Regions from separate parts of the Homo sapiens genome. Here region 1 is linked to region 2. Evidence: promoter capture Hi-C in 16 types of primary human blood cells and fetal thymus (Javierre and others, 2016). All regions are on one chromosome and are shown on one strand. The core of a region is centred on a gene start or on the middle of the fragment in contact, and the rest is flanking DNA. Distances in the headings are between cores, read along the strand shown. Region 1 overlaps CRYL1 (crystallin lambda 1). Region 2 holds the start of GJB2 (gap junction protein beta 2).

Region 1 (2,803 bases), core at 7-2,506, 210 kb after region 2:
GGTCATCAGGGACCTTCATGCACATGTCCTGCAAGAAGGAGAAGGAAAAAAAAGGACAATAAAGAGGAAATAATTTATCAAGAGTGTAATTATTGCTCTTGTTTATGCAAACTGTGCAGAAACTGCTTTCAAAGACAAAAGCAATAAACCCTCAATGAACAGCAGCTTTCCAAATCTTGAAAGACCTCAGTCCCTCAGAGACAAGTCACAATGAGCTACCAGTTCACTGGTCACCCTGTCCTTAAGGTGTCCTGGTGACACGATGGAAGTATGAACAAAGTTATGAATGAGGAACCACCAAGATCAAGGGTAAAGATTCCAGCTGCAGAGGCAGGCCCACCCGCTGCAGAGGTGAGGGGCAGCAAGTGCTCCAGGTAGCCAACATGCTTCTCTGCAGTGAGTTGCAGAGAAGTTACATACCTGGTTAACCTTCTCAGCAGTGGCCCTGGAAAACTCTGGAATGGGTCCAAAAGTCTGTAGGACATGTTTTATGCCTTCGCTGTATCTGTCGCAGTAGCTTAACATACCTGGAATTGTATGAAGACAAGAATCCACAATCTCAGAAAAAAACATTCTTAGTTATATTCAAACTCAGAAATGCATTCAGAGAGTTTCACCCTGGGGTCAGATAAGCTACACTCTTCCCTCCCTGTGAAGACAAGACAGAGCTGGGGCATGTGTAAGGGCCTGCTGGCACTGGAGAAGCGACCCTCCCCATTACGCACTGTCCACGCTGGCTCCTGGGGGTTCGAATGCCAAAAAGTGCTGGTCCTGGCTGGGCCCGGTAGCTCATGCCTGTAATCCCAGCACTTTGGGAGGCCAAGGCGGGTAGATCACCTGAGGTTGAGAGTTCAAGAGCAGCCTAGCCAACATGGTGAAACCCCGTCTCTACTAAAAATACCAAAAATCAGTCAGGTGGCGTGGCAGGTGCCTGTAATCTCAGCTACTCAGGAGGCTGAGGCAGAAGAATCGCTTGAACCCGGGAGGCAGAGGTTGCAGTGGGCTGAGATCGCGCCACTGTACTCCGGCCTGGGCAACAGAGCGAGACTCCGTCTCAAAAAAAAAAAAAAAGTGCCAGGTCCCTCAGACCTTGCATGCCACCTCTGCTGGTGCATCTCATGGGACCCTCCGGTTGGCCTGCGTTCACACACTGATTTGTTGGCTATCACAGTAAGTCCTAATGTCACCAAGTGTTTCCTCCAACCATGGGTGTACAAGGTTATTTGTGTACAACGTTTGAATGCATTTTCCAAGAATTAAAAATGTCAGATCTCAGGTAAACCTGTCACTTATGTCACTGTTAGACCACAGATCTCAGTTAGCACTGTATTGGGTACGGTCAAGGCTGCAGGTACTTGAAACACCGGTTGGAGAGCTCACGTTGGCTTGTACCTTGCTGGTTTGGGTGGATGGAGCCAGGCGCTCATCTGCACAAGCCCCCATGCACGCTCCCCACGCTCCTGCTGCTCCCCAGCCTTGGAGAGCCATGATTTCTCAGATTCTAAGGAGAGGGCCCTGGGACTTTGGTGAAGAGATGCAGGAAGAGGCTTATCCTGGAGGGAGAGGGAGGGAGCCGCACGGGCTAGGCTGACTGTGCGAGAATGGGGTGCGCCCAGGGGAAAGCGCAGGCCAGTCACGGCCCCCACCCAGCACTGGCCTGCCCCGACCCGCTGGGCCCCGCAGACTTACTCTCCCTCACATTCCTCCCCTCCCTGCTGCCGGGAGGCGAACGGGCTGGTGCCGGCCTGTGCTTAGCAAGTCAAGTCAGAAGCCAGGGCCGGGATCCTGGAAGAGGAGGAGGAGGCGTTTCTAGTCCTGGGCGCCATGGAGGACATAGGCTGGGCTACTGCTGCGACCCTGACTCATTTCCCACATCTTTCAAACCCTTAAAGGCTCAGCAGCTGGTCAGTCCGCCTACAAAGGTAACATGGGGACAAACGAAGCTGCAGAACGTGCAGAGCCTGCCCCAGCTCAGCTTCCCACTCCCCACAAAAACCGTGGATGATTAAGTTAAAATACGAACCATCGGTACTAGATACGCTCAAAAAGCAAAAAATAAACAAACATCATCTTTGGGGTTTAGTTTTGATTGACCTATGCTGATTTGAAAGCCTAAAATCATTGGGTTGCAATTTATTTGCTTCAAATAGTTCTTCTCTCTCAGTGTGTTAAAATTTCCCCCAAAATGGTTTTGAAGGGTAAAAGACTCAAACATACCAACTTTTCTGACATTAGCATCTGAAATTAACGGATGGGTACTCTGTTTATAAAAGAAGGGGTGTCATCTCATTTAACCTAAGTGTTAATTTGGCAGTGCAGAATTCTGGAAGTCTCCTGAGCTTTCCAGCACTGGATACGTACTGTAGATGGCTTAGCATTTCTGGAGAACAGAAAACAACCTACACATTTATTTCATTTGGGAAATTATTTACTTCACTTTTGCTAGTTGCTTATTTATTAAAACTAAAGGAGACAAAATCTAGACACAAATACAGTTTATTCCTTCCTTTTGGGGTGGGGGAGGGCAGAGACACAAGAATCAAGTTGAAAATACATTAAATTAGAAGAAAATGGAAAGAGCTGCTGTGGCTGCATATCCCCCCACTTGCAGGCAGGCAGGCGCCCTCACGAGACCCCTCAGCAGCCAGTTCCATCTCCCTCTCCTACCAGAGCAGCCACAGGCCAGGGGTTCAGTTCACGCAGCACTTGCTCTCTGGAACATGTCACATTCTCTGAGCAAGTGTTCATCTCTCCCTGTTCTGTGAAACCATTTGAACCTCCCAGGAGCTTTCTAGAACTTTCT
Region 2 (2,813 bases), core at 75-2,574:
TCAAGTCAGAGGAGGAGCTGCCCTCCTGGCCTCCCGACCCTGGGCGGTTACATGCAGCTTCCTACCGGGCCCACGCCATCCTGCACCGCCTGGAGGGCTGCCAGAGGCCAGCGGAGGAGTTGGTTCAGTTCCTTAGGGAAGACACTAGGTGAATCACCAGGATCCAGAAAAGGCAAAAGGGACTCTTCACCCCTTAAATTTCTCCACCCTTAGGTGATGGGTGGTCGACCTTGCCTGGCTGTCCCCAGAGGGTTCCTCCACCCTTCTCACCAGTGTCTGAAATTGTGACCGACTGTGCACAGCAGTTTCGAAAGGGACTCTAAGGTCACATGGGGACACGGCCGTACCACGCTTCTCAAGGCAGTCCCAGGTGCATGGCCACGGAACCCAGCTCTCAGCAGCTGTTAGTTAGGTGAGCGCTGTTCGGGCTGCCTTCCTCCTCCAGTGGGGCAGGATCGAGGCACTGATGGAACCGTCCTGAGGACGCGGGTCTCAGCCGCACACCACCTCTTCGCGAACAAGGGTCCTAAAAATTTTCCTTCTAGGCGGGGAGCACAGCCCGGAAACAGACCCTCGTGAAGTGTTTAGGAAAAAGGGAAGCCACTGAAATCTTGGCCCCGGGGTAGGCCGGGATCGGCTGGCTCCGCGTTAGTTCTAGGCAAACTCCGCCCAAATCTCTGCCCGGGGATTTTTCTGCAGAAGCCGCTCCAAGAGGTAAAGGTCAGTTCCTGCAGCGAAGGCTTCCTGCTTCACCGGCGAAACGGAGCTTTGCTTCGAAGCTAAGCTTTCGGTGAATTTAAAACGTTTGGTGGCAGTGGGTCAAGTAGCCAGGCGGCTGCGCTAGAGTACCCCGAAGGGACATCGGCGACACCACAAACCTCGCGCTGGCGGCTCGCCCGCGCCTTTTTCCCCTCCCGCGCGCGCCCGGCCCCACTCGCACCCCGGGCGGTGCCATCGCGTCCACTTCCCCGGCCGCCCCATTCCAGCTCCGGAGCTCGGCCGCAGAAACGCCCGCTCCAGAAGGCGGCCCCCGCCCCCCGGCCCAAGGACGTGTGTTGGTCCAGCCCCCCGGTTCCCCGAGACCCACGCGGCCGGGCAACCGCTCTGGGTCTCGCGGTCCCTCCCCGCGCCAGGTTCCTGGCCGGGCAGTCCGGGGCCGGCGGGCTCACCTGCGTCGGGAGGAAGCGCGGCGGGGCCGGGGCGGGGGTCTCGGCGTTGGGGTCTCTGCGCTGGGGCTCCTGCGCTCCTAGGCGGGTCCTGGGCCGGGCGCCGCCGAGGGGCTCCGAGTCGGGGAGAGGAGCGCGCGGGCGCTGCGGGGCCGCAACACCTGTCTCCCGCCGTGGCGCCTTTTAACCGCACCCCACACCCCGCCTCTTCCCTCGGAGACTGGGAAAGTTACGGAGGGGGCGGCGCCGCGGGCGGAGCGCGCCCGGCCTCTGGGTCCTCAGAGCTTCCCGGGTCCGCGAACCCCCGACCGCCCCCGAAAGCCCCGAACCCCCCAAGTCCCCTTCGAGGTCCCGATCTCCTAGTTCCTTTGAGCCCCCATGAGTTCCCCAAGTGCCCCCAGCGCCCTGAGTCTCCCCCGGTTACCCCGAGCGCCGCCTCCCCCAGCCCCTTGGCGGCCCGGGTGAAGCGGGGGCGGCTGAGAGTCGGGACCCCCCAGGAAGCGGCGCCCCAGACCCCGGCTCCGGCGCTGTGCCGTGGGCGGGGTTCAGGGATGGCTGTGGTCGTTGTCCTCTGTACTCCGCATAGTGCGAGAGGACTTGGCATTTATGAGCGCTTCTTTAATTTTTTATTGTTAGAGAAACAGGCATTCCTCCAAGGACTGAAGATCTGTTCGAGTCGCGGAGGCTGCGCGGGCCCGCGAGGCTCTCGCAGGGGGACCTAGGCTGGGTGGCGGGGCAGTGCCCTCTGGAATGGGGGTTAACGGTGGCCGAGGAGGGGGCGCCGCTGGTGCCGGCGAAGTCCCCGCTTCTTTCTCCCCTCAAAATCTCACCAATCCGAACGAACGCCTTCTCGAATTTCCGATTTTATTCAATTACTTTCAACAATGTGCCAAGGACTAAGGTTGGGGGCGGTGGGAGAGACAAGCCTCGTTTTTGCCATGGCCGGCAGGGGGGTCCCGCCATCTGCGGAGGGTGCCCCCCGCGGCCCCCGGCCCAGCCAACTTCCTCCTCTTTTCGCAACTGGGGAACTGCAAGGAGGTGACTCCTTTCGGGGTGAGGAGGCCCAGACTTTTCAGAAAGGAAAGAGGGCAGGTAAAACCTGCCAAGCCCCTTCCTGCTCGATGCACACAGCACGAAAGGGGGAAACTGATAGGATTCTGCGGAAGACCGCTGGGGGGCTGGCTCTGCACTGCACACCTGCTGGGGGCTTTCTGGATACCGTGAAACTTTGTCTCAGATTATGAGGTCTCAGTATTTGCATTTGGTTGGGGATTTTGATGTCTTGCGATACAAATGACAGAAGACAGATTTGCACAGCGCAAGCGGATGAGGGACTAAGATGTGCAGAGCAGGCTGGGTGGGGACTCCCGGGGAGGTCTCCCCCAACCCCCGCCCCACCTCGGGCACCCACTTCGCGATTTTTGCAGAGGGGAGCCAGGTCAGAGGTGCAGCCTGGTCCCCTCGCGCTCACGTTTTTACCCAGGTCAGTTCGAAGTTAAGTGGAAATGATGATTAATCCTGACAAGTCAGATCTGGCCTCAGAATGGATTTCCCGTGATTGCCACCATTATTAGCATTGACTTTTCCTTGAAAAATTGGCGCCCCGTGGCCATGGGCCGACCTAGGCAGTTTCTGCAGGGACGAGCG

The links. Contacts are between HindIII fragments. The CHiCAGO score rates a contact against its expected background, and 5 or more counts as called.
Region 1: a contact is called between a fragment that was not itself captured here and the fragment with the promoter of GJB2 in region 2, in 2 of 17 cell types (M1 macrophages and M0 macrophages). The highest score is 7.5, in M1 macrophages.

The regions. Positions count from the first base shown.
Region 1 is chr13:20,404,215-20,407,017 of GRCh38, forward strand. CRYL1 (crystallin lambda 1) reads right to left here. Exons shown (of 8, transcript NM_015974.3): 7 at 421-527; 8 at 1-28. Among named protein-coding and RNA genes, the nearest start is that of MIR4499, 28 kb to the right of the region's middle. RefSeq lists an enhancer at 1,622-2,141. The HindIII fragment of the contact is 6,108 bases long and covers 1-2,803 here.
Region 2 is chr13:20,191,614-20,194,426 of GRCh38, forward strand. It overlaps GJB2 (gap junction protein beta 2), which reads right to left and starts at 1,325. Exons shown (of 2, transcript NM_004004.6): 1 at 1,170-1,325. The HindIII fragment of the contact is 5,188 bases long and covers 783-2,813 here.